Regions from separate parts of the Homo sapiens genome. Here regions 1, 2, 4, 5 and 6 are each linked to region 3. The links are contacts of gene promoters, found by promoter capture Hi-C in blood cells and fetal thymus (Javierre and others, 2016). All regions are on one chromosome and are shown on one strand. The core of a region is centred on a gene start or on the middle of the fragment in contact, and the rest is flanking DNA. Distances in the headings are between cores, read along the strand shown.

Region 1 (4,737 bases), core at 2,238-4,737, about 16 Mb before region 3:
TAACAGTATAATGAAACCTCATGAACCCATAACCAACCTTCCACAACTATCAACATTCCGTTGCTGTTGTTTCAGCGACTTCTGTTTTTTTCTTTTGAAATATTCAAACGCTAATCTCAACTGGTGTGGTGGCTCACACCTGTAATCCCAGCACTTTGGGAGGCCGAAGCAGGTGGATCCTGAGGTCAGGAGTTCAAGACCAGCCTGACCAACATGGTGAAACCCCATCTCTACTAAAAATGCAAAATTAGCTGGGCGTGGTGGAGCCTGCCTGTAATTCCAGTTACTTGAAAGACGGAGGCAGGAGATTGGCTTGAATCGGGGAGGCGAAGGTTGCAATGAGCTGAGATCGCGCCATTGCACTCCAGCCTGGGCAACAAGAGCCAAACTCCATCTCAAAAAAAAAAAAAAAAAAAAATACCCTGTAAAAACCAAATCTCAGATATGATATAAGTTTATCCATAAACATTTCAGTATGTATCTCTAACAATTACAGACACATTAAAGAAGTCTGTTTCTCCTAAAATTTTTCCCTTAATAAACGGCTCAAGCCAAAACCTTGGAGTCATCCTTAACTCATCTTTCTCTCATACCTCACAGCCAATCCAACAGCCAATACTGGATAATTTGGAACCTTCACTGCTACCACTGTAATCTAAGTTACAATCGCCTTTTACGTGTATTATGGCCACAGCTCCTTCATTGGTCTCCTTAATGCCCCTGAAACTTCAGTCTTTGTACTTCTTCCTGCTGCCTGAAATACTTTTATTCCAAAAAAAACTAGGTCTGTCACTTCCTTGAGGTCTCTTGAATTTCATCCTATTAGAAAGACTTGCCCTGACCATCCTATCTATACACGATACTAATGTTAGAAAATACTAATAAAGATATTAACAACCACCATCTCTGCGTTATTCTATTCTTCTGGCCATGATTTTTATCACCACCTGATGTATTTACAAGCTTATCTTCCGCTACAATGTAAGCTTCAGGAGGGCAGACACTTTGCTGATTTTATTCACTGCTGTATCACCAGTGTCCACAGTAGCCACAAGCAGACATCAGACATGCAGTAGACACTTAAATATTTAAAACTGAAAAGAAAATTATTTGATGGCTAACAGATTAGCATAAAATTTAAAACTTTTTCCTAAAGAATTTGAAACAAGGAATTAAAATTCTTTGGGAAGTACACATTTTGAGAGCTTTGCTAGATTTAATTTTTTAAATTGAGTCTATCCACAATTTAAATCAGACTAAATTCTAGTAAATGTGTCCTCTTTAAGGGGTGTGAGTTATACGTCTGAAACATATTTAACTGTATTTAAAAGAGTAGCATTATACAGTGTCAAATCCTCATAAGCATCTAGAATTATAGGTAATGAGCACTAGGACAAACAAAAATACCAAGGGCTCTAGTCCTCTATTGCAGTCAATGTTAAAAGTGTACAAGTGTCTCACACATCAAAATTCATTTCACACCCTCAATCACTCATTCTTCTTGCACCTTGTCTTTGAACTATTAGAAGCTAGTGAATTTAAATCAAAACATTATTTTAACTATAAAGGCTCAACGTCTACAATATATCATATTTTAGGGAAGGAAGGGAAGAAAAGGGTTAAGGCAGCTAGCTTATTACTCACCATGCAGATTTTAGAACTTAGAAATCAAAAGCTAGAAGGAATTTACCATCTCTAAAGTGTTACTTGCTTGTTGATATGGAAATGCTCAGATTGAACCAGATGATTTTTAAGGTCTCTCTAGGCCACAGCATTCTATTATTCTAGCTATCTTAAATCTGGAATGCTTATCCCGGAAGAAAAAGCAGCTGGGAGTACTAGGTCAGACAGCACCTGGTTATTTACTAGTTGTGCAAGTTTCTTAACCTCAGTAAGGCTGCTTCCTCACATATATAAAAGGGGTTAATAACATCTATCTGGCAAAGTTATGGAAAAGACTGGAGATAATATGTCAAATGCATTACAAAGTGCTTGACAGGTTTTTCATAATATAGGCAGCTATTACCTTGCTCTAGCTCTACTACTCTTTTGCCAGGGATAGTGCAATGTAGGATCAACTGTGCCAACAAAATTGGGGCAAAGGCAAGGAAAGTAGTAAAGCCACAGAACAGATTTACATTTCAGCACCAATTTGGTATGCATATTAGAAAATTATTTTTGTTTTCTTTTTACAAAAGAGAATGTTGTTGCTACCGTGACCGTAAACACCAGATTGTTTATAATTCATGTTGTGAAATTTACATCTGTTCACAGATTTACTGAGTTGGCATAACATGGGTGATGACTGTGGGAAACGGCCCAAGTTCCTTAGTACTGACACTTCCTTGATTGTAGAATATCGAGAGGTAGTCAACTTTTCCCCTTAAAGTATATTTAAAACATACTACTGTGACTACAGCCATAACAATATCCCCGCATCTCTCCTTGATCTACAGCTGGTGCTTCCCATTTTGAAAAAGAGTGAAAACCCCCCAACCCTAGGTTTCTTGTGGTCTTGGCAAAGTCTCAACGCCAACTGGCGATCTCCATTTCCCCCGCGGGCTGCCAAGCCCAGGACAGTCCTTTCAGGGAGAAAGAGGGCCGGAGGGAACTGTGTTGGCAGCTCTCTGGGTTGAAGGACAGGAAAAGGAAACTCCCTTCTTGGACTCCGAGGGGAGGGTGAGAGACGAAAGGAAAGGGTGGGGGGTAGTGCAAGAATGGCCTGTGTCTCGGTTACCGCAAAGGACTCGCAAGCCTCCGCCAGCCCCGGGGTGGAGGCCACAGGAGCACTGACGTCGTGGTATCAGAAAGGCGGACAGTGCAGCCTTAGTGTTCCCCAGGGGTGGGAGGAAGCTCCCGGCCCCGTCCCCACCCCGCCTCGCTTCCCAGGGAGCGGCGGTTGGGCAGGAGCGGGGCAGAAATCCGCCGCCGGGCCCGGGGAGGGGACCAGGCCGCGCCCATCTCCCAGGCCTCTGGCTGCAGCAGGCCCGCTGGGTGGTCGGCGAGGCCCGGGGGCGCCGCGTCGAGCTGCGGTCCCCTCCCTCAACCTTCCCGGGCGCCGCCACCCCTTTTCCCCCCAGCACCAGGGTACCTGCACGGCGCGACTGAGGAAGGTGCCTGCGTCGGCCGCCAGCTTCTTCACGTTGAAGTCCATGATATTCATCCTAGGCGGCAGCCGGGCGGAGCCGGCCGACCTAGCGGCGGCGAGGCGGAGGTGCCGCGGCCGGGCTGGGGCGCAGGGCTAGAGCGGCGAGGGCAGACGTGGTAGGTGGAGGGAGGCGGCGCCAGCCCCGCAGCCGCAGCTGTCGTTTCCGTGAACGGGGAGGATGAAGGCGGGGCGAGGGAGGAGAACAAGCGCGCGGCGGCAGCGCCAAGGATGGGTCAGTCGGCTCGGAGAACGGCCGCTAACGTCGACGATGGGCCCCGCGGGCGAGCCGGAGATGGACGGGCGACCCCGCCGTGTGGACCCGGGTCCCAAGGGAAAAACAAGCGCGGGCCGCGGGGCGGAGCCTTTCTCGAGGTTATCGCGGGAACAGCGACCCCTTGAGGATTGCGGCGGCGCAGCCCCGGGGCGCGCCGGGAGCTCCGCCCGGCTCCTGTGGAGGAAGCGGCGAGGGCGAGCCGCGGGGTCTCGGCGCCTCTGTATGCTTGCACTTAACGAGAACCCAGAGCGAACACGACCCACATTTCTCTTTTTGTTTTAAGAGGAAATATAGGAGTTACAGCATAGAATTACAATATCTGGACATTAGAAATAACAGGTCCCGGTCACGGTATGGCACCGCGCGACACACTTGGTCCCTGAGGCCTGGATGCCGCTCAGCAAACGTTCGCGGAATAGGGTTGGGTTTACTGTCCCCCACCGAGCCGGTTGCTCATTCATTCAGCATAATTGAATACCTCCTGTGTGCCAGGCACTGAATCAAGTGTCGGAGACAATGTCCTGCCCTCAAGCTCCTGGCCGGTTACTTGACAACCTTCCGGGACCTCAACGCTATGTGCCTACTGTGTGAAAGCAAAGTGCCAGGTGGAGGACACAAAGATGGCGAGCGACACAGGATAGTCCTTAACAATTAAGCGTGACTAATTTTAATAACAAATGAGAATATGATGTGACATCCGTTCCAAATCCTGTCGTTCCAAGTAACTTCTTAAGCATCTTTCACGATACAGCCTCTGCTTGAAAGGAATTAAAACAGGTACAAGCATGGAAGGAGACGTTGCTATCATATTTCAAGAATAAGAAAATGCTGTTTTGTGTGGTTGTGCAGCAGGCAATGAAATGAGCTTACATTCAAGCTTCCGTGTTTTACTGAAACAACAGTCACAGATGCAGTAGATGTTAAAGGTTGAAAGACGAGTGCAGTAAAAGCATTATGAGGACAAGAAGAAAACGTAAATATTTGTGTTGTTTCATTCTTTGTTGTGGTGGCAGAAACAGCCCCCTCTTTCTAAGGTAACTCCAATATAATGATCTCTCCCAGCTTTGAAATACTCCATGTCTGTTTCATTTTCCAGAAATATGGAAAAATGAATATATAATAAAAAACCCTATTTCTCATTTATTGTCTATTTTAGATCTTTATGTGGAAAAGCACTTACTCTCTTCCCAGAGCACTGTTTTTAAAGTAGGTATATTTGCCATAACCTATGCTCGTCTCTACAAAAGGATCACACCACCGTGTCCACCATTAAAGGGGAAATTCTTTAATGGTGGACACAGTGGTGTCCCTGAAT
Region 2 (4,585 bases), core at 1,646-4,145, about 12 Mb after region 3:
TAGTTAAAAATTATGGAATAATTTTTTTTTAATTATAGTTGGCCTGTGGAAAAGCCCTCTTGACCTTAAAGTAGATATAAAAACAGTTTTTTTAATAAAGATGTTGGAGTGGCACAAGTATAATTTTATGGTGTTATTTACTTGCCAGAATTTCTTTCATGGCCCTATGTAGGCAATTCTTTCAGATTGTGAAAAATATGGTTGTCCAGGGGTTTATGGGGAAATTTTGAGAAGCTGTTATGTGATATATTGGAATTGACTTGATTTCTTTTACTCTGTCAGTTAATTTTCACTTATTTTCAACAAAATTTTCATTTGGATTTGTGGCTTTCAAAAATTATCTGGAGAAATTAACTATTTTAAAAATATCCTTTCCCTATAATTGAAAAAACATTATTTAGCATTTATGACTTTGGAAGTTTATGGTCCTTTAAAGGGTGGTTTACGTATTTGCAATTGCCCAAGAGGTTGAGTACTGAGCAGCCTTTTGCTTTTGTATTTTGCTGAATAAACAATGAAATGAAGTTAACAAAAGGATTAATGGGTTGCTTAAATTAGTGAGCTTCATCAGTTTTATTTTTAATTCCTTGAGATAATGAATTTTAAAAGCAATAAATACAATGCTGTAGTTTTTGACTTCTTTTCTAAATATTTACATGGATTTACATGAAAGAACTAAAGAGATAGTATTTGTGGAACCAATTTAAACTCTTACATGCCTTTCAGGATTTGGGAATGTATTAACACCTGCTGCTTTGTATCCAGTCTAAGGGAGCCTATTTGTTTGTTATCACATTGACTTCCTTTGATGTCTTTTAGTGTTACCCTCACTCAGACCCAAGGATTATGTCTTTTGGGGCTCCCATCATCCTGAGCTAGAGACACGTGACAGGGTAAATCTCTGCCCCCAGGTAGAGGCTGTAGCCTTCTTGTTTTGTTTGTTTGTTTATTTTTAATTCCTAGACTCAAAGTATTGAATTTAGCCCATGGCTATCTATAACCTTTAGTTACATAAATATGGAATGTTCCATTTCAGAAATTTTTTTTGCAATTCCTTTTTTTCCCCTCAGGGTACACTCTCCTACAAAACCAGCCAGTTACTCAGTAAAGTGGACGATAGAAGAAAAAGAGCTGTTTGAACAAGGGCTGGTAAATAGAGCAATTTTAAATTTTTAGTAAAATAATTCTAGAAGCAAATATTGGTAAAGTTATAAGGTTAAATTAATTTATAGAGACCTGAATTTTCTTTTTAATTACAGTTTTAACACCTTTAGTTCTTCTGTAGTTAGAGTAATGATGTTTATAGTGTAGTGCAAGAGAATTCCTTTTAACTTAGATCTAAGGTACTAAAATACTAAAATAGATTTAGATCTGTAGTTTTCACGTTCTTGTGGTATTATCAAAATCCAAGAAATTGAGGTATATCTGTATACATGACACCAACTACCTGGATTAAAAGGCAAAATTATTTAGTAATCTCTTTTTTTTTTTGAAATAAAATAAAAACTTGTATATTTGAAACTGTTGGGGTGATCAGCTGAGTTTTTATTCAGATAATTTGGCATTGTATACACTGTCTAAATATTTCAGCGACTCTAAATGAAGACCAGAAACATTTTTTTTTTGCGTGAATGTCTATTACACTGAAATCTATTTAAATGTTCACAAGTTGCATAATGGAAAAGATACGTATTCTGGTTTCTAATTCTGAAAATACCCCTTAATATGAAGAAACTTTAAAAAAAAATACTTAGGATTTTTTTTTAATTTTTTTACTATCAAGATTAGTTTATATCTTTTCCTTTAAGGTGCATGATACCTAGTAATGTTCTAAGTAATTTTGAAATTATGTATATTTATACATTACATATATAGAATATTTGTATATATAAAATTTATGTATGCTAATTGAAGTATCATTAACATTTCTACAGATGATGAGAATAAAATGTTTGTGTTTGTATTTTAGTCAACACCATGAGATCTGTATACTGTATGATATTCTTATATAAATATATAAATGATCTTGAGGTTTTTATCTCTTCAAGACTTGTTCCTATACTGGTGATTTTTTTTTTATATTGATATTTCAGTGTGTTGTATGATTATCATTTATATGATCTAACTTTAATTAATCATTTATTTAAGATTCCTAACAACTTTGGTGTTTTGCCCCTTATCAAAGACCAGATACATAATGTTAGGTCTTAAAGAGGAGGTGAGGGTTAAAGAAAGACACACACACACACGCAGAAGGAGGGCAGCTCAGCAGCAAATGCAGGCTTTATGTCCAGCATAAAACCTACAGAAGTGGGAGACCAACCTAATGCCAGAGCCCGCTGCTGCTTATAGCCTGGGGCAATTTATAGGTATCGGCAGAAGAGGTCTGGGCAGTATGGCTTGCTGCCCAGCAGGACATTGATAAGATGTTCCCATGATGAGGCAGTTCTGGCCCTTGTTCCGGCGGGATGTCGTTGTGGTGTTCAGGTGTTTTTTGGACCTTTGTCAAGCAAGATAGGATAGGGATATTTCTTTAGTTGGGCCTTTGTTTGTCTTGTAGTCAGGTGGTTAGGCAGGATACTTCTCATGGCCTGAACCCCTGTGAAATGTTTCACTTCGACAAAGGTCTGCAAAATAGCAGGGAGCTTACAACATGGTGCAGTTTGTACTAACATATATGCTTACATCTGCAAATAGATTGAATTTAAGGTTCATTTTTGGGTTGTTATTTTTTATGTTGGTGGTACTTATGGGGACTACATTTGCATGGTTTAAAATTCAAAAGGTTCCTAAAGTTATAGGGTATTAAGTCTTCTCACTCTCATCTTAGCCTTCAGTTCGCTTCGCCCGGGGTAACCAGTGTCTTCTTTGTGTTTTCTTCCAGAGATATTTGTCCATATATAAGTAAATATGTATTTATTTATATAGAGATATGTAGACCTCTGTCTATTTACATTAAGGGAGATTTTAAACTTGGAATGTTTTCCTACACAACAAGCATGGAATTATTAGTTGTATTTTCAGCTTTTTTTTAAACCATTGATAAAGTTTGCTTACAGACTGAATTCTCTCAGGCTTGGGAGTAGGGACTTGGGTGGTACTGATTGATGAAGAAAGGCTTTTTTCCTTCCCTTTTTTGGGCATGGGACTCTCCCTTTGCTCTATTTTGAAACTGGTGAATATTTTCTTTGCTCCTTTTTTTATCTTCTTTTTTTTTTTTTAAGAAACAAGGTCTCGTTATGCTGCCCAGGCTTTGAACTCCTGAGTTCAGGTGATCCCCTTGCCTCAGTCTCCTGAGTAGCTAGGACCACATACATGTGCCACTGTGCCTGGCTTCTTTGCTCCTCTTGTTCGTGTTCTTTCCCCAATTTTTCTAGTGCCCAAGTCCCTACTCTTCTACTAATCATATCTTAATCCAGATCTGTCCTGTCTCCACAAATGCTCCATGCTACCTACCAATGTTATCTATTTGTCTTCATCCCACAATAAAGATAAGTAGTTTTTCATCAAGTTGATCTCAGCTAGGTGTTAAGAGCAATCTTAAATAATTAATTTATATTTACTAATAATTTTCAGAAGCACTTTGAGTTTAAGAAATTGTCCATATGTCATATTTTCTAATGAGTATCAGAAATTTACTTAAATTAAGGTTTATCACTTGGGTGAGATCTTTGAAAATGATTTGCTACCGTAAGGCATGACTGCCTGGCCTGTAAATCTGACAAAACTTTTCCTAAGTTGTGGCTAGTTTTTTGTTTTTTTCATAGTTTTAAGAATTCTAAAAATATAGAATTATTTAGCTACCTTAGGAAGTAGAGAATATCTTATGTTGGGGATATTGCAGAGAGGATTTACGTATTAAATTATAGTTAGACTTGATACCTAACAGTCCCTTTTAGCTGTCAAATTATGTGTTCCTTTCTGTGCTTGAGAACACACAGGAGCTCCCTCAAGTTGTCATTTTTTTTTTTCCCTCCACAGCTTCAGTGTTATGACGTGCACAGCCTTTGACACCTGGATGTGGGAGGTGTCAGAAGGCATTAGTTGGAGGGTAGGCAACATAGTGAGACCCCATCTCTACAAAAAATAAAAAATTAGCCCGGCAAAGTGGTGCGTACCTGTAGTCCCAGCTACTGGGAAGGCTGAGGTGGGAGGATTGCTTAAGCCTAGGAGGTTGAGGCTGCATGAGCCGTGATCACACCACTGTACTCAGCCTGGGTAACAGAGTGAGACCCTGTCTCAAAAATGAAATAAAAACTGACAACGACATTAACAGGAGAAAACCAGAGTTTGTTGATGTGTGCAGCATATACATATGCAAGAGAAACTCTGATGAGTAATGAAACGGGTAGTTAGAACTTGGGGCTTATAACATCTTAACAAAGAAGACATTTGTTGCAGGACTTCCTCATTTGTGATTTAATCGATTTAGTCTTTTAGGTCAGTTCACTGTGATATCTGATAGAGTAAAAGTCTCTGCTGTGAGATACATAATGGATATTGCAAAATAGGGAATCTGAGTTAAAAAAAGTGTTGAAATTAGCACAGAACATGTTCAGTTGATCGTATAAATGGAAAATGTAAC
Region 3 (4,921 bases), core at 1,279-3,778:
TTACAATCAGGTGACCTGTTCACAACAGATAGAATTTTATGTAATCTGAGCCATTCAATGTTATGAATAAATATTTTTGGAATGATGAACCCTGTGGACCACTGGGAACTATATGCAACTTGTGCCAGTCAGATTAGTGTATTGAAACTTATAGTTAAAAAAACAAAATGCAACATCAAGTAAATAAAAGTAGCCATCTACATTACTGATCAAATGTAGAAGGCCACTAATAACATTTAACTTATTGTAACCTTGTACATTTTAAAAGACAAAATGATCTTGTATGTGGGAAGATAAATGAAGGAGTCAGAGTAAAAATGTGTCAATTTATCTCTCTTTCTCCCAATACTGGGAAGGGAGTCCTTTTAATGCAGAATATCCCAGATCATATAGTTGAGGGAGACATTCTCAAGCACACACTAGCTGTCCTGGTTATGAAGGAACTATTCATTTGATTACAAAACAAAAAGACTCTGGTCCATCACAACTTCCTCTAGTATACTGGTCATGCATTAGGTAAAAGATGAACCAGTATAATGCCTACATCTCTCTTACCTTTTTTCTAAATGCATCATAAAACTGCCTTCAGAGAATAAACAGCATTTAAAAGTCAGCAACCATAACAAAATTTTTAACTTGTAGGATTGGAAAGAATTGTAGTAATTCGAATACCTCAAATATCTCACTAATAAAACTATTAAAATCATCCAATGTATCACTATTTTCTGCTATTTTACTGTTCATTAATTTTACAAGCTTAAAACAGTAAGTCTTGAGAAAACTGAACAACAGCAAAGCATCTATTTTTGTATGTTCATGTTATGAAAGCTATTTGTCTTTCATTACCAAATCAAGTATCTGTCAAAATAACAGGAATAAAGATTTACGTGTTTGTTCCCAGAACTCCACGTCATGCAAACTAAGTAAATCCTCTCTCCACATGTACATTTCCCTAAAAATTAGAAACATACCAATTTGAAAACACCAATAATCTTGTGAAAGTATTTTAAGTGGAAAGTGATGAAATATGCTAATACTTAACAAATATCTCATTATGATAAACTTTTGTCAATTATTTTATTGAGCAGAAAGTTAATGGTTACACGTACCATAACAGTAGATTCTTAGAGGATTCCAATTTCCTGTTTAGTATTTAAGTGACATCATAAAATTCTCAATATATGATATTTACTGATAATGACATTTGAATTGTCACTTCTCCACCAATAAGTCTTCCAAAAAGCACAAGACTATTATTATTATTCCAATTGTCTGTTTTAGTAGTACACTTTATCTTACTTCTTAGCTTCTTTGAACTATTTTTTCTTTACAATTCATCCACTTAATATTCTTGCGATAGAAATAATTTTCAAAATAAAAGTGAGACAAAAAGGATAAAAAGTCATACACTCTAATTCAAATTTCAACATTTATAAAAATCCTTCTCAAGAACAACTGTGAAATATCACAAATCTGTATATTATTCAAACAAAGGAAAATCTCTGGTTTATAACCCGTTTTTTGACATTATACAAATTAAGTAATCAGGCTCACACTAAACTAAGCGTCTGTCAAAAAGAATATGATCTTTGAATTATATTGCTGGGCCAGAACCACATAACAGCAATAACAATAAGTGAACAACCTACAAAGTTTAACACCAAATTAACACAGGCATGAATAATTTTGTTACCTTTCTTCCAAGAACGCAAAGAACAAATACTCAGTTTTTTAAAAAAGGGATTTAACCTATATACGACGTACAGACTGCGGTTAGTCTTGCGTTAAGTCCCCAAAGCCAAACGACCACGTTGGCACAATTTAAGGCGGAAAAAAAAAATTTCCCGAGAATAACAGCCAGTGTTTCCTAATTCCAAAAAGCCCTGGCCCTGCCTCTCTGCATTTTTTTGTAGGCCTGGAACACAACCGTCTTAAGTAAATCCACCAGCCACCAGCCACTCAAGCAGCCTGGCCCGGGGAAGCAGCGACAGGGGCCTAAGGAAATTGTGTGTGTTAGGCCCAGGCTGAGGCGGCGTTAGCAGGAACAGTGATGGTGGACGATACTCACTCCGGCGGGAAGAGGCGCAGTTCGTCGATCTTGCCTAGGAAACCGAAGAGAGTCCGCATCTGCTCAGAGCTAGCGCTCGGGGAGACATTAGTCACCTGGATTACCTCGGTGCCGCCGCCTCCGCCGCCACCACCACCTCCGCCACCGGGCCCGCCGCTGGGGCCCGGACCTGCAGTGCTGGGGACGACGGTAGTGTTGCTCATGGCGCTGCTCGGGTTCTCGCTCCTGCTTTAACACATCAAACACACAACAAACAGTGAGAAGGAGGGGGAAGAGGAACCGGATTGCGGGAGAGAGGAGGGTGTCCGATGCTACAGCCTCTGCTACTGCTGCCGATGCCGCCGCCGCCGCCGCCGTTTCTCCGCCCCGCCGCACGCCGCGGGGGAGGGGATGAGAGCGCGCGAGCTCGAGACCACGAGAAAACAAACGGCCGCCCCACCTCGCCTCCAACCACGACACTAGCGGGCCCGAGCTCCCACAATGCTTTGCGGCGCAGGGCGCGTCAGCGTCGGCTCCACCCCGCGCAGGCCCAGCAGCCGTCGCCTGCAGCCCGAGAAATGAGAGGCACCGGGGTCTAGAGAAAGGTGTTATCCACCTTCGTCTCTCGTTTTATTCTTCTTTTTCTTCTCTCTTTTTTTTTTGGAAGAGCGAAGAGGCACGTATAAACTTTTTTTTTAAAAAAAGCATTCATCCTCCTGCAAAAGTCACTTCAGCAACTCTTCTTATTAAATACTGCTCACGATGTCTTTATATACTGATAATCATCTACAGAGCTATCCGATTACTAATGATATTTAAACCCAAGCTAAGATGCCACCCCACCACCACCAGTATAAAATGTCCCGAAATTTTCAATGTACATGAATTTTGGTAACATTAAATCTGTAACTAATTTGTTTTGTCACTAAAACTTTCAGAAAAGATATATTTTAATATTACACTTATTAATAAGCGTTTTGTACATTCATTCACAATGGATGACTTTTTTTTTTGAGACAGAGTCGCCCTGTCGCCCAGGCTGGAGTGCAGTGGCACCATCTTGGCTCGCTGCAACCTCCACTTCCCCTGTTCAAGCCATTCTCCTACCTAGGCCTCGGGAGTAGCTGGGATTACAGGCGCCTGCCACGACGCCAGGCTAAGTTTTGTATTTTTAGTAGACATGGGGTTTCACCATGTTGGCCAGGCTGGTCTCCAACTCCTGACCTCTGGTGATCCACCCGCCTTGGCCTCCCAAAGTTCTGGGATTACAGGCGCGTGAGCCACTGCACCCAGCCAATTCCACAATAGCTGACTTTGGAAACACAGTTTATAGTACTTAAATATATTCAAGTATATATTTCTAAAGAAAATACTGCAATTTCTCAAGAAAAACTTGTTTCACATACATATTCTTGCTTAAAATAATTTTGAAGCTTTTGACTATTAAAAAAATCCTTGCTTTTGTTTTCAACCTCATCTGAACTATTCTCTCAACTGCATCCAGTGTGTAGTCCAGTGACTTGTAGTGCCCCAAACATGACAAAAACCATAATGTCTCTGTGCCGATACACAAGTTATTAATAACATCACTCATCTTATCTGTCATCTTCTGTAGAGCATTCCTTCCCTCACTGCTATGACTTCTGCAAGCTGTTAGGGCTTCCTCTTTTCTGCTAAGTAACAGAAGATACATGTATTTATTATTGACATGTATCACTCAAAGTTGTGAGCTTCCTGGGTCAGTCCAGAACCTGGCACAATGTCTGTCACACAGTCAGTCCCAATGAATGTGCTGGACACACGCACAAATATACCTTAATGACAATGGCATTTAAGACAGTTCACTAAATAATTCACTTGACCTTGAATGTTTTTAGAGGTAAAAGTTTTAGATGTTTTGGAGGTAAAAACAAACAAACAAACTTGAAGCCTTACAGAGTATCTACATTAGTGAATACCTCTTGGCACAATGCAGTCAAGATGCAATATGTGAGAGATTAGAGCACAAGGTTATTGAGATTTGGGTGTAGAGCCAACTGGCTAAGTGACTTTCACTAGTGCTTATACAGAAAATGGATGGGTTGACTGAATGTGAGCCTCAGCAAAATTACAAATTATGGCCTTCATAGAAATCAACTAACATTAGCTAGAGCCAAGACTTTTCAGAATTTTAAAGAAAAGCATATAGCTGTCCCTCAGTATCTGTGGGGGATTGGTTCCAGGACCCTCCCACAAATACCAGAACCAGAGGATGCTCAAATCCCCTATGTAAAATGGTGTTGTGTAATAAAGCATTTGATCTGTATCCATGGGTTCCATGTATGTGGATTCAACCAACCTGGGACTGAAAATATTTGGAAAAAAATTGATGGTCTAAACATGTACAGACTTTTTATTTCTTGTCTAACAACTATTTACACAGCATTTACATTGTATTATTATTAGTATAGAGATGATTTAAAATATTTGGGAGGATGTGCACAGATTATATACAAACGCTATCCTATTTTACATAAAGAATTTGAGCATCTGTGTATTTTGATATCCTCTGGGGTCCTGGTATCAATTCCCCATGAATACTCACCTCAGGACTGGTACAACTGTATTTGCATATAATGTAAGCACATACCCTCATACTCTTGAGTAACCCTTATCTAAAATGCTTGGGACCATAAGTGTTTTGGATTTTGGATTTTTAAAAAAGATTTTGGAATATCTGCATTATATTCACTGATTTAGCATCCCTAATCCTAACATTTAAAATCTGAAATGCTCCAATGAGCATTTACCTTGTGCCAGTTAGTGCTCAGAAAGTTTCAGATTTTGGAGCATTTTGGATTTTGGTTTGGATTAGGGATACTCAACTTTAATACT
Region 4 (4,453 bases), core at 204-2,703, about 17 Mb before region 3:
ATCTCTACTAAAAATACAAAATATTGGCCAGGCGTGGTGGCAGGCACCTGTAGTCCCAGCTACTCGGGAGGCTGAGGCAGGAGAATGGCGTGAACCCAAGAGGCGGAGCTTGCAGTGAGCCGAGATTGCGCCACTGCACTCCAGCCTGGGTGACAGAGTAAGACTCTGTCTCAAAAAAAAAAAAAAAAGGCGTTCCCCTGCATAAGCTTTCTCATTTTTTGCCTGCCACCATAAGATGTGACTTGCTTCTCCTTGCCTTCTGCCACAGTTGTGAGGCTTCCCCAGCCATGTGAACTGTAAGTCCAATTAAGCCTCTTTCTTTTGTAAGTTACTCAGTCTCAGGGCGTCAAAACGGGCTAATACAGGATGTTAAGGAAAGAAATGATACATAATTTTTTAAAGACCTATATTAAACTTCTAGAAGGGCAGGGGGAGGAGTGGGAGGCAACGCCTGAGATAAAAAATAAACTGGGTAATATTAAAAGTGGATTACATACTGCAGAAGGATTGGTGAATTAAAGACCTAGCAGTAAAAACTATCTAAAACAACACACACACACACAAAAAGACTGAGAATGATGAATAGAACATCACTGAACTGTAGAACAATTTCATGTGGTCTAATGTAAGTGTATTTTGAGTTCCTGAGAGGAGAAGCAGCATAGAAAAACTAACGTGAAGAAATAATAGCCAAAAATGTTTAAATGTAATAAAAACTGTAAACTCACAGATCCAAGAAGCTCAACAAACCCCAGGCACAAGAAACATAATACAAGGGCACAAGAAACATAATTTAATAATTAAATAATTAAAAACCTAGTGAAACTCTTAAAAGTAGGCAAAAGAGGAAAAATAAAAGACACGCTACATATAGTTGAACAAAGAATGATGGCAACCTTCTCATCAGAAACAATGCAAGCCAGAAGACAATGAAGCAATATCTTTAAAGTACTGAAACAACAAAAATGTCAGCTTAGAATTCTATACCCAACAAAAATATCCTTCAAACACTATAGCAAATAAAGACTTTTTCAGACACACAAAATGAAAAGAATTCATCACCAGTATATTTTTAAGTGTAAGTAATGTTAAAAGAAATTCTTCAGAGTGAAAAAAATGGTACCACATGAAAATCTGCATACACACACACACACACACACACACACAAAATGAAGAACACTGGGAATGGTAAATATGTCAGCAAATTTTTAAAAAATTTTTAAACATTTTATATATTTTTAAAATATAAGTTAAAGCAAAAATAATAATGTATTGTAGGACTCATGTATAGAAGTAAAATGTATAATGACGATAGCAAGAACCCAGAAAAAAGTGGTAATATATTAAGGTTCTTATACTACACATGAAATTCTATCATGTATACCATAAACCCTTAAGCAACCACTTAAAAAAAAAACAACAACAAAGAGCACTGCTAGTAAGTCATCAAATTAAAAAATGGAATTTAAAAATACCCCTTTAATCCTAAAGACAACAGAAAAAAAGGAATCACAGAACAGTTAAGATAAACAGAAAACAAATAGCAACTCACGAATTTAAACCCAACCACATCAATAATCACATTAAGTGTTCTAAACATTCCATTAACAAAAGAGATTGTGAAATTAGATGAAAGATTAGATGCTGTCTACCAAAAATCCACTTTAAATATAAATACACAAGTAGGTTAATATTAACAGGATGGGAAAAGATATACCACCTGACACTAATCAAAAGAAAACTGAAGTGTCTGTATTAGTATTAGACAAAGTAAGTATCATAGTCCATTGTGTGGTACTATAACAAAATACCTGAGACTGGGTAATTTATAGAAAACAGAAATGTATTTCTTCACAGTTCTGGAAACTGAGAAGTCCAAAATCAAGACACCAGCATCTGTTGAGGGACTTCTTGTGGCATCCTCACATGGTTGGGGGTAGAAATGGCAAAAGGGGGACAAATGCTGTCTTCTTACGTAGAAAAAAGAGAACACACTGCCACAAGCTCTTTTATAACAGTATTAATACAGTTATGAGGGGAGAGCCCTCATCACCTAAACACCCTCCACCTCCCGCCCCAATACTGTTGCATCGGAGATTAAGTTTCCAACATGTGAATTTTGGGGGAGACATTAACACCACAGCAGTAGGTTTCAGAGCAAAGAATATTACCAAGGATAAAGATGGTATCTTGTATAAAAAAAAGGGTTGGTCCATCAAGAAGACATGACAGCCTAAATGTGCATATACTTAATCACAGCACTTCAAAATACATGAAGCAAAAAGTGACATAACTACAAGAAAAACAGACAAATCCACAATTATCAAAGATTTCAAAACCCCTCTCCATAACTGATGAAGAGGCAGAAAAAAATCAAGAATACAAAACACCATAACAATACTACCAACCGACATCTACAGCATACTTCAGCCAATAACAACAGAATACATATTTTTCACGTTCACCTGGAACATTTACCAAGATAGTTTTTTTTTATTTGTAATTGACAAAACTGTATATATTTATCATGTACAACATGTTTTAAAACATGTATATATCATGGATGGCTAAATCAAGCTAATTAAGACAACATGCATTACCTCACATACTTTTTTTTTTGGTATGGTGAAAACACTTAAAATCCACTCTCTTAGCAATTTTCAAGAATACATTGTGACAGGAGAATGAGGGAAAGCTTCGGGAACCATGTCTTTAGGTAAGTGAGGCAACAGAATCAGGTGCACAAATGACCGAACAGGAGCACTGACAGTTACCATCTATTGTTAACAGGCAGAAAGGCAGAATACGTAAGTACAGGTACTGGTAGGTGGGTAGATCTTAAAAATAACTAGGCTATAGTGAACCATGATTATGAAGTTCATCTATAAGTACATCCTTCAAAAATGGTCTTCTGGAGAGCAATCTTTGAACATTCATTATTATTTCAATTTCTCTAAGTGCCAAAAAGCTATTAGAAGGCCTACCAGAGTGGTGGACAGACATCCTGGAATTATCTTAATTGAGATCAACTATTTCAGGTGACTACTCCATGGCACTAGACATCCTATTCAAGACTAAGTGAGGCACCAATTACCAATTCTAGAATAACTGTATTCCTATTAACCCAAAGTCCTCAAAACAGTAGCTACTATGAGGTTTTCCAAATGATTTCAGAAGTGAGGAAATCTAGCATTCTCTGGAACATCTTACAGGTATTGCTGCATGGTTTCAGGAACTTACTTGTAAAAACTACCAAATTCCAAAAAGCAGTCTCAACCTTGGCCCTGGAATTAGTTGTTTAGTCTAGTAGAGTTTTAAGAACATAATGACTAACATTAATTCTCACCAATGGATGATTACATAATCCATTCTCAATTATTTTCCCCATGTAAAAGATTATTCCTAATGTGCTCATAAATCCATATAGAGATGTAAGAATACAGTCAACAAATATTATTTACAATGCTAAAACCCTATAGAAAATAAAGTTACCAAGCACATAGTTCTATCACTTATGTGAGAAAATATTTCACTGCACTGTTCGACCAGTCAATATTAGCAACAAGTGCGCTCTTGAAATTCGGGAAGAACTACTTTTTACCAGCCACAAATTCTGACATTTTATAGTAACGAGTCACAGTTAAATAGTTTTCATTTGGATTCCCTGTCCTTTTCCATTTCTCACTAGAAAATTAAGTCTACATTTTAATACAATGAAGTATTAACTTCATTTGAAGTTGAAAAACTTCTCTTTTTCACAGGTAATAAGCTTATCTCCTAAATTTAACTCACAATCTGCACGTTATGTTACTAAAAACAAAAAAAAGTCCACTAAATATGAAACATCTACTATAAATCTGTGATCCTTGCCATTAAAGGAATCACATACTCCTTTGCAAATCTGATGAAAGTTATGTATATAATTTCAGGGAATTCACTGATACCTTGAAGCCTATTTATGGGTCCCCGAGGTTTAAAGAATCTCTGATTAATGGAAAATAGCATCCAAAATTGATCCAAGAACATATGAAAACTTAGTATGTGATTAAAAGAAGGAATGTTAACATACAGTTGGAAAAAATGATTTACTGAGAAAATCATGATAAATCTCTGTAAACATACAAATGGTTTAAAGAGCCAAATGTAATAAACTATAAAATACTATAATAAAATACAGAAAATGTACACAATCCTGGCTCTGGGTAAGTCTTCCTAAGCAAAATATGAAAACGACTTCCCTAAATTGATAGATTTAACTGTGTGTATTTTAAAACTTCTATATGAGCAAAACACACCATAAAGTCAAGAAACAAATGGCAAACTTGGACAAAAACAAATAAGAGGCCGGGTGCAGTGGCTCATGCCTGTAATCCCAGCATTTTGGAAGGCAGAGGGGGGCAGATCACTTGAGGTCAGGAGTTCAAGACCAGCCTGGCCAACATGGTGAAACCCT
Region 5 (4,348 bases), core at 764-3,263, about 17 Mb before region 3:
TCAGTAACTATGGCTGCAAAACAGAATTACCCTAAAATTTAGTGACGTAAAACAATTGATTATTTTGCTTTCAAATCTTGTGAGTTAGCAATTCTGACAGGGCACAGCAGGGATGGCTTGTCTGTTCTATGATGTCTCAGACCTCAGTTGAAACACTAGGGCCTGAAATCTGAAGGTGGTTTACTCACATGTCTAGTAGCTGATACTGGTTGTCAGCTGGAGTTTTCAGTTGCTCTCTACATGGGCCCTTCCATGTTGTCTCTCTTGTATAGACTTCTTTACAGCAGGTTGGCTAAGTTCCAAAGTTGATGTTCCTAGAAAGAAAGAATACTAGCCAGGCAGAGGCTGTTTGCTCTTTTACGACCTACCCTCAGAATCACATAACTTCCTTTAAACTCTGTTGTTCAGAACAGTCATGGCCCGTGCCCAGATTCAAGGGGAGGGAACATAGACCCCACTTCTCAGTGGAGGACTAACATTGTAAGAACATGTGAAATGATATGTACACATTGATGCAGCCTTTGATACATATTGATTGTCTTGTCTTTGGAAAACACAATCTGCTCATTGTTACATTTGATTTTCAAATTATCCTGTGAAATAAATGAGGCAGATCACTTTACTGATGGAGAAATTACCCAAAGTACTAGTATGGTAGCAAGTGTCTTATAGTTAAACTAGAGAGATCAAACACACAAATTAACCAATAAAGTCACAGTTCCCTCCCACTAGGCTGGGATGTCTCATCTGTTTTGAAAAATTATACATATGACATTATTACAGAGATAAGATTAAAGATGTATAAAATATCACGTCAGCATTTTGGGTGAATATGCCAACAAGTACTTAAATTTTCTTTTCATTGGGAAATGCCACTGGATATTAATCTACCTGGTGAGTTTAGAAAAGGATTGACACACTGCAGCTGGTGGGCCAAATTCAGTCAACCCAGTTTTTGTAGAACAAATTAACATAACAAAATGAAGCAAAGTTTCATTGGAACACAGACACATTCATTCATTCATGTGTTATCTGTGACTAGTTTTTGCACTGCCATGGCTGAGTTAGATAGTTGTACAGAAACCATATGGCCACAAAAGCCTAACAAAATTATCTGGCCCTTCACATAAAGTTTGCATACCCTTAGTCTAGAAGATCAGTCAGTTGCAGTCAATCTGAAATTTCCCCTACCTGACGCTATGGCTTTGTGCGATTTATTTATCCAACAGATATATGAAAACTGTCACAAGTGAGGGAAAGACAGAGAAACAACTTAATGCTTGCCTTCAGAAGAGTTCATAGTATTGTTGAGGAGTCAGATTTACATAGTACAGTGTCACGAACGGTACTGTTTTACAACTGTGCACAAGTTTCTCGGAGAAGAAAAGTACTCTGGCTAATGATTGAGATCTGATTTTTTTGGTCAGTGAAAGCTTCCTAAAAGACTAATACTGATTAGATTCTTGAAAATAAGTAAGATGTTACAAGGTGAAGAAGTGGAAACAGAACCTTAAATATAGGGGAGACTGTGAGCAAAAGTGTGTTTGAGTAGGGCTTTTATACTTCAAGATACTATAGGAATTCCTTATAGCAGGAGGAATTGAGGAAGTAATGAGAAGTAGCCTTGGCAGTGAGCATTTAAGCCACTGAGGCAGGAAAAGACTTGAGAGCTTTTTAAGAGAATTATAAAAATATATTAATTGGTTGTGAGAATGGTGAAGAATATGGAGTGTAGGTCAGTAGGATGACTGATCTGGGCAACTAGCTTGTCAGAGAAATGATGCCATTTTACTAAGATACTGAATACCTTAGGAAGAATAGATTTAAGAAAAATATAAGTTTCAGTGTTGCAGATTTTGAACTTGCAATGCATATTCAACACCTAAATGTGATATTGAGTGGACTGTTGGCTTTGGAAGCCTGACATTCAAGAAAAATACTTGAGAGTTTTCAATAAATGCATATCTGAAGCCATGGATAAATATGCAGTAATAAATAGAAGGCATGTAAAGCTAAGAGAGAGCCAAAAACAGAACTGTGGGAAACAATAGCATTTAAGAGATGCATAGAAGAGAAAAGTAAAGGAGGACAGGCCTTTGGACGGGGTAGTTGAAGCAGAACAGTTTTGAATGCCTTTGCATTTGGTAATTTTGGGCAAATTTTGTGGAGTAGTAGGAGCAGAAACCAGGCTATATTAATGAGTTTGGGGTGTTAGGAAAAAATAAAGATAATAGAAACCAAGTTATAGTAACAATTCAGAAATGACAGAACGTGGGAAGAGCAGTTAGGACCATAGGGCTTAAATATAGCTAAAGGTTGAAGTATTGATGAAATGAAGTATCTGTTAAGATAGAATCCAAAGAGGAAGTAGAGGGATTGGCCTTAGACAAATGGAGGTATACCACATTCACTGATAGGTAAAAAAGAATGGATGAGGGAAGGGAATATTGTTGAAAGCCTGCTTTTGTCAGCCATTCTGATTGATTAAATCATCTCTGATTTAATGTAACGATTTATGTAAGGTAACCATAGCAATCTGTTTTATGTAGGAAGTATTGCCCCTTAATTTATGAGTGAGGAAATTAAAGCTTAGGGAGGATAGTTTGCCCAGGGTCACGAATCTTGTAACTGGTGGCACTATTACCTAAAACCAAAAGTTTGAATTCTGGCGTGCTCTTGCCTGCACCATCCCCTTTCCCGTCCTTCTTCTGCTGGATGTGACTGTAGATAAACCCTACAGCTAATCTTACTCCATAGACCCATATGAACAGATGTTGAGTTCTTAAAATGAAACAAAAATTATTTTTTCTTATAAGAAAATTCCTTTTTAAAACAATAAATCTTTAAGAAAATATTTATGTGATAAACATCATGAACAATGATATGCCTTTTCTTCTTAATCCATATTTTAGCTAAGCTGAAAGATGATGGATGTTTAAGAAAAAAAGCTTGTAGGGGAGGTGGGAGAAACCAGACTATTACATAAGGTTACAGAGTTTAAGAAAGAATTTATTGCTGGGCGAGGTGGCTCATGCCTGTAATCCCAACACTTTGGGAAGCCAAGGTGGGCGGATCACGAGGTCAGGAGATCAAGACCATCGTGGCCCCCGTCTCTATTAAAAATACAAAAATTAGCTGGGCGTGGTGGCATGCGCCTGTAATCCCAGCTACTAGGGAGGCTGAGGCAGGAGAATCACTTGAACCCAGGTGGCAGAGGTTGCAGTGAGCCGAGGTTGCACCACTGCCCTCCAGCCTGGCGACAGCAAGACTCCGTCTCAAAAAAAAATAAAATTAAATTAAAATTTAAAAGAATTTATCTCCAAATGAAACATTTCAGTAACTTGTCTTCAATGTGTTAGTTTTTGACAACCCCGTGTTCTCTTTTTGGAAAGCTTTGTAGTATAAATATGGAATTGTGTTTTATTTCCCATTTTTTATTTTCAGGTGTCTGCTTTTGGGGCAGAGTTTTCATCGGAGGCATGCAGAGAGTTAGGCTTTTCTAGCAACTTGCTTTGCAGCTCTTGTGATCTTCTCGGACAGTTCAACCTGCTTCAGCTGGATCCTGATTGCAGAGGATGCTGTCAGGAGGAAGCACAATTTGAAACCAAAAAGGTACTGTTTTCTAGTATATTCCTTCCATTGGATGGTTTAGTTGAGATAAGGTAAAAATGTAAGTTGCTTAATCAATTTAAGTGTAAAAAAGCCTCTAAGCTTTTACATTTTTTAGTAAAACTCAACTGATTTCTTGTCTGGCCTATTAGTTCAATCAAAGCAAATATGAAGGAGAAGTATGGTTGCATACCAGGATCCCATTCCACCATGATTGTCAAGCAAAGGGGAAGTAGAATCCCTATAACATGCTTTGATCCTGTAGTTCTCCAGTCTTCCTAACTTCTGGCCAAATGAAGCCAAAAAATAATAGGTGCTTTTGTTCATTTATAGTAAGAACCCAGTGTTGGATGAAACTTGAAATGAAAGTAAAGCACATAATACCTGGCACTTAATTGTCTACAATAAATTGTAACATGAAATCTGGTTAAAAAGAATATGGACTGTTAGTTTACACACCTATTGCTAGTAATTTGAGACACCTAACCTCACCTTTAACATCTGAAAACAGAGCCAAGGATAGGTAGTTCAGTCTCTCCAGGTAAACCTACTATGTTTTAAAACCTGCTGTTCAAACAAATTAATAGTGAACTTGCTCATCTTTTAAATATTTTCATCAAAACTCTTAGATTTATTTAAATTATAAAGTAGACTGGAAAGATCATTTGAGTTGTCCAGTTAAAACTAAATTGGTAAGATACCTGTGTTTGTAGTGAGAAAAAAATGTTAGCATATTTCT
Region 6 (4,935 bases), core at 2,107-4,606, about 12 Mb after region 3:
ATCCTGATAGAATCCCTGAGGATACTGACTGCAGATCCTCAGAGCTTGCAGAGGTGGCTGACCCTTCCCTAGTCAAAGCTAACACTTCCCTTAAGTGGGAAGGCAGTGTTGAAGCCTCTAGCGTAAGGAATAAATAGGTGCCCACTCAGGACCTGCCCCATCTCCTCTTAGATATCTGCCAGGGTGATAACTCAGGTTAAATTCCAGCATCACCCAGCTGCCTGTGTGTTGGGCCTGTAAAGGTGTGGGGAGGAAGACTGCATAATGTAGGAGCTAAAGGAACTACCTAGCGTGTACCAGCAGGAGCCAGGAGAGGACCCCTGGAATGGGATTTCTGAAGGTGCTTGATCAAAGTGGGCAGGAACTGTGGCGGGATTGATAAGGAATCAGAGATACCAAGAGGTTGAGGAGGATTTATTATTTAGGTGCACCGGCCCAGTCGGATTAACATCCAAAGGACTGAGCCCCGAACAAAGAGTCAAGTTACCTTTTAAGCATTTTATGGGGTTGGGGGAGATCTGTGCAGGGAGAAGCATGTTACAGAAGCAAGAAACAAAGACAGTTATTTAATTAATTGAGGCATGCATTACATCATTTCTTACTTTTCAAGGAAAAACGTGTCTTAATGGCTTGAGTTTATCTGTCTAGTGACCTTGCAGCGCACAGCTAAAGAAACAGGGTCTTTACAATGCCTGGGAAAGGGAGAGATAAGGCTCACTAGCCACAGAAAAACAGGCAGTTAATATTTAAAGGACTCCAGCTCTTTCTCTTTCTCGGGGGGAGGTGGGTTTTCTTACATAGAACTGAGTTTCTGTTTACACATTCTTTAATTTCTTTTAATTCCTATTCCAGAACAAGCCTGGCTAAATAAAAATTCATTGTCTTGGGGGCACTTTCTTGGGACTTGGGACTGTAGAAGATGGGTAAACTCACTGCTAGGTGACTATTAGAAGCTGAGAGAAAGCCATAGTGCATGCAGAGTAAAGCAGGAATGCCCGAATTGCCCTTGCAAATGGTAGAAGGACAGAGGAGCTGAGGGAAGTGGACTTGCCTGAAAGAATTTTTTTTGTGTGTAGAGCCCGAAGGCAGACAGAGGGGAATGTTCCATGGGAGGCCCAGAGGATGCATCATATTCTATGGCCATGGGGAATGCACTGGCGTGAGGGGCACTAGCATCACTAAGAAGTTCAGAGAAGGCTCTCCTCTGGAGGGAAGGGCTGACGGTAGGAGAGGCAATCACAGGGCTGGGCTTGATAATATCCATTGGGATAACAGGATCCTGAAGTAGTAGAAGCCAGGTGGTGGCTTTAACCATGAGGACACCAGAAGATGTAATTACTGTAACATCTGCCAAGGGCAGAGGAGCAGCCAAGGGGGCTTGATCCACAGGAGGTTGTGGAGGGCTTTAATAGCATAAGGTCTCCCTAGGGGAAAAACAGACGGGCAGCCAACAAGAGTGTTGCCTAACATCTACAACTGGAGGAAGACAAGAAGCTATTTATCCTATGCAGGGAGTAGTTGCTTAATAAAAGGCACTGCTCATTGCTCAAGTCTCAGACCTGAGCCTATCTTCACACTGAGACCACAGAATCTGTTGACTTAAGAGGTTGTTGGGTCCCTATAAAGAAGAATCCTGCAATACTGAAACAAATATTTACTGTAATTAATGATTACTCTTTGGTCTGTGTCCCACGGCCATTTTCTTGACTGATTTTATGTTGAGGAAAGAGGAATACCCAGACATTTCACAGGTGTTACCCAAAGTATGTAACACACATGGCTCCTCTCTAAGTGTGGGGGCTTATGGGGATCAGGTAATAAGCAGAGTCCTGGATAATGTCCAGCTTACAGTGGGTCCAGGAATACACTGACCCATCCAGTAGTCATTTTCTTAGTTCCTGAGTGCATAATTGGGAGTACATATTGGGCAGCTGGAGCAATCTCCACATTGGTAAGAAGCTCAGGGTCCTTGGTCTTGAGTTATCATGGTGGGGAAAGCCAATGGGAAGCCTCTGAAGCTGTCCTTCTTTCCAAGTGAAGATAATAAATCAAAACCGATATTTCATCTGAGGGGATAGTGAGATGATGGTGGAGATTAATGTCATAATTAAAGACCTGAAATATACAAGAGTGGTTGGTCATCCCTGCCATATCTCTACTTAACTTGCCAGTCTGGCCCCTTTGGAAATCAGGTGGACCCAGGATAATGACATAATGGCTCTGCGCAGTCCAAAAGGAGCTGGATCAACTGGAAATTCCAGAGAACATCACACCCATCTATTTCACCAATGACATTATGCTAACCAGGCAAGATGAGCAAGAGGTGGCTAGCATGCTGGAAACTTTGGTAAGACATGTGCACTCCAGAGTTTGGGAGATAAACCCTACGAAGACTGAAGGACCTCCTACTTCAGTTTTTAGGGGTCCAGTTGTCAGGGGTTTTCCAGGATATCCCTTTCAAAGTAAAAGGCAAATCATAAAATACACATAAGATAAACGAAACAGTAACTTACACATTTTCCAAAAGAGATACCTAAAATTGTTCATAGTGTTTATGTCCTTTGACATAGTGTTTATGTCCTTTGAGATGTTTTCATTGTGCACAGAGTGTAAACATAATAAACTAATATGAGACCTCACTACTCATCCATCACAATCCAGTGTTTATTTGTACTGGCTTATTTGTACACTTTTATTTATTTGTGTTTATTTGTACACTTTTTTTTAATCGCCTGTCTTTCCTCACTGTGATATAAAGTTCACGAAATTCAGGTCTGTCTTGTTCACTGCTACATCCTTGGCACTTAAAATGTAGTTGATGCTCAAGAAATATGTTTTGGTGAAATGAATGAAACATACTATACACATAATTTTGGAGCCAGCTACTTTAACCTCCAGACACTTAAGATTATACTTCATCTTTCTTAAAATGCGTCCCTCCAAAAATCATATGAAAGCACTGTTCCCATACTCCAAAGACTATTTCTATGAATGCAGATTCAGAACCAGGAAGCCTTCGTCTTTTGGCAGTCTTCGAGTCTCTTCCCTTTTGGCCGGTACTGCCGTAGAGACTACAACGGACACAGCCTTGCGTGGATCATTCTTTAGAGGACCCAACTCACCAAAGACGGGAGAAAGTTGTTCCTAGGCAAGCAGCCCAGCCCAGGGCCATGTCCCGCCTTAAGCCACACGGAGGCGCTAGAGCGCCACAGTCTCCGCGGGGCCCGGGGCAGCTGGGAGAACGACTCTGGGCGGCTGTATTGACTGCCGGGTGTGGGCGGAGCGAAGGGCGCCCCGGCCGGTATGGCGGGCAGGAAGTGCGGGTGCGCGCCTGCGCATAGGTCGGGTCTGCGGTGTCACCGCTTTCGCTTCTGCTTGAGTCAGTCCTCACGGTGACGCTTTTCCCCAGCTTTTCCGAGTAGGATCGTGCCCAGGGGAGGAGGCAGAGTGCGGCAGTGGGGAGGGGGCGGAGCGCAGAGCGCCTGCGGGGGCGCCCGGGCAAGGAGTGGGGATCCTTGGGGATGGGGGTACGGGAGGAGGCGTGGGTGGGCGATAAGGCTGCGTGGAGGGGAGGGGCGGGGGGCGCCGGGGCGGGAGACGGAGGGGATCTGTCCTGGGGGAGCCCGGTTCTCCCCTAGCCTTGCCCGGGGCACGCCGGTGACCCCGTGTGTCTGCCCCGTGGCAGTACTTTCGTGGGCCGCCTGCCCTCCCCCTCAGCCCGCCCTTATCCGCGGCTCCGCTTTCAGAGCAGGGTTTCTCACCCGCGGGGCTTCGGGCTCCTCACCCGGCACCTCTGCCAGAGGGGACCGCCTCCCGGCGCGTCGGGCATTCGTCTCTTTCACCCCTTCCCTCTTCAGGAGAAACTGAACACGTTTTCCAGCCTAAACTCGGCAGGGCAAACCAGAACATTCCCCGTCTAAGCAGTTCCGGGGAGTTTTAACAATTTCCTCGTAAACTCGTCTACAGAACTCACTGTATACTGTTTAAATGTCGCCTGTGTGTGGAGCAACAGTTTTATTGTGCCGTGCAATCCTCAACAAGAAATTGTAGTCCAGGGAGATGAAAATCCCTTATTTGGCATTCAGGCGTTGATCAAGGTCGTGCAACCCTCGCTAAAAGGATTTAGGTTCATCTCCGTCATTCTCAGCCGGGGTGAAGGGGTGTAGTCTGACATTTGGAAGCTTAAGAACCAAGTCTGCTGCCGTCCAATTCTTTTTTAAAGCCTTCCATCATGTGTGTACTTTGCTTGAATGATTATTTTAAAGTACATGTCCTATTTTTGCCAATCTGACAGCTGTTTCCATAGAAACTAGAGAAGAAATAGTCATTTTCAGCAAGAGTTGTTAAAACTGTCTTCCAGGCTTCAGCTGTGAGTGCCAGTGAGTGCTGCACTTGCTCATTCGGAGATGGTACTTAAAGAATTAAGGATCTGAAATGTTCGTAGAGGCTAACAATCCAAATTGTTTAATTTTCTCACATCATTAATTTTGTTATCCTAGAAGTCTGCCAGCTATGTTTGTTGACCTGCCACAGCTCTTTGAAGAGAATATGTCAGCCCTGATTTTTTTTTTTCTTATGTGCTCTGTAGTCTAGTGATTGGCTCCTTGAAAATGCATGAATAGATTTCTTCCCTCATTCTTTACCCTTTCTTCAGGATAAACCGGGTATTACAAAATATCAGGCACTGTTTCTATTCAAAACGACACTTGGTTGTCAGTGATAGAAATGATAATGGTTTTAATTATATATGCGTAGTGTTGGGGCTTTTGCTTATACCTTCTGTGTCAATAGGATTCTTTTAAAATTTTTACACAAGTCATGAGAAATGAGAAGGAGTTTGCTTGTCATGTGCAGAGCTAAGCAGTGTGAATAGATGTGCATAGACATAGAGATGAGAGCTTTCTTTTTCTGTGGGGTGTAAGTAAATCAGGGAGT

The links. Contacts are between HindIII fragments. The CHiCAGO score rates a contact against its expected background, and 5 or more counts as called.
Region 1: the fragment with the promoter of SH3GLB1 here is called in contact with the fragment with the promoter of SRSF11 in region 3 in 1 of 17 cell types (total CD4 T cells); the score reaches 10.9 in total CD4 T cells.
Region 2: a contact is called between a fragment that was not itself captured here and the fragment with the promoter of SRSF11 in region 3, in 1 of 17 cell types (activated CD4 T cells). The highest score is 5.6, in activated CD4 T cells.
Region 4: a contact is called between a fragment that was not itself captured here and the fragment with the promoter of SRSF11 in region 3, in 1 of 17 cell types (total CD4 T cells). The highest score is 6.4, in total CD4 T cells.
Region 5: a contact is called between a fragment that was not itself captured here and the fragment with the promoter of SRSF11 in region 3, in 1 of 17 cell types (total CD4 T cells). The highest score is 6.0, in total CD4 T cells.
Region 6: the fragment with the promoter of OMA1 here is called in contact with the fragment with the promoter of SRSF11 in region 3 in 1 of 17 cell types (total B cells); the score reaches 5.2 in total B cells.

Annotation. Positions count from the first base shown.
Region 1 is chr1:86,703,326-86,708,062 of GRCh38, reverse strand. It overlaps SH3GLB1 (SH3 domain containing GRB2 like, endophilin B1), which reads right to left and starts at 3,487. Exons shown (of 9, transcript NM_016009.5): 1 at 3,092-3,487. The coding sequence starts at 3,163. It overlaps CLCA4-AS1 (CLCA4 antisense RNA 1), which reads left to right and starts at 3,570. Exons shown (of 5, transcript NR_135837.1): 1 at 3,570-4,456. RefSeq lists a silencer at 2,834-3,323 and enhancers at 3,148-3,649, 4,214-4,283. The HindIII fragment of the contact is 3,313 bases long and covers 989-4,301 here.
Region 2 is chr1:58,685,602-58,690,186 of GRCh38, reverse strand. It overlaps MYSM1 (Myb like, SWIRM and MPN domains 1), which reads left to right. Exons shown (of 20, transcript NM_001085487.3): 6 at 1,071-1,149. Among named protein-coding and RNA genes, the nearest start is that of MYSM1, 12 kb to the left of the region's middle. The HindIII fragment of the contact is 6,559 bases long and covers 1-4,585 here.
Region 3 is chr1:70,218,987-70,223,907 of GRCh38, reverse strand. It overlaps SRSF11 (serine and arginine rich splicing factor 11), which reads right to left and starts at 2,528. Exons shown (of 12, transcript NM_001350605.2): 1 at 2,069-2,528. The coding sequence starts at 2,271. RefSeq lists a silencer at 2,144-2,193 and an enhancer at 2,089-2,634. The HindIII fragment of the contact is 2,724 bases long and covers 759-3,482 here.
Region 4 is chr1:86,919,134-86,923,586 of GRCh38, reverse strand. The region is part of intron 1 of HS2ST1 (heparan sulfate 2-O-sulfotransferase 1); the gene reads right to left. Among named protein-coding and RNA genes, the nearest start is that of HS2ST1, 6.7 kb to the right of the region's middle. RefSeq lists a silencer at 1-67. The HindIII fragment of the contact is 2,489 bases long and covers 209-2,697 here.
Region 5 is chr1:86,902,545-86,906,892 of GRCh38, reverse strand. SELENOF (selenoprotein F) reads left to right here. Exons shown (of 5, transcript NM_004261.5): 2 at 3,445-3,612. Among named protein-coding and RNA genes, the nearest start is that of SELENOF, 9.4 kb to the left of the region's middle. The HindIII fragment of the contact is 1,155 bases long and covers 1,436-2,590 here.
Region 6 is chr1:58,545,147-58,550,081 of GRCh38, reverse strand. It overlaps OMA1 (OMA1 zinc metallopeptidase), which reads left to right and starts at 3,356. Exons shown (of 9, transcript NM_145243.5): 1 at 3,356-3,379. It also overlaps a transcript of DAB1 not described here. RefSeq lists enhancers at 2,918-3,107, 3,321-3,947 and silencers at 3,508-3,607, 3,618-3,707. The HindIII fragment of the contact is 5,811 bases long and covers 1-4,183 here.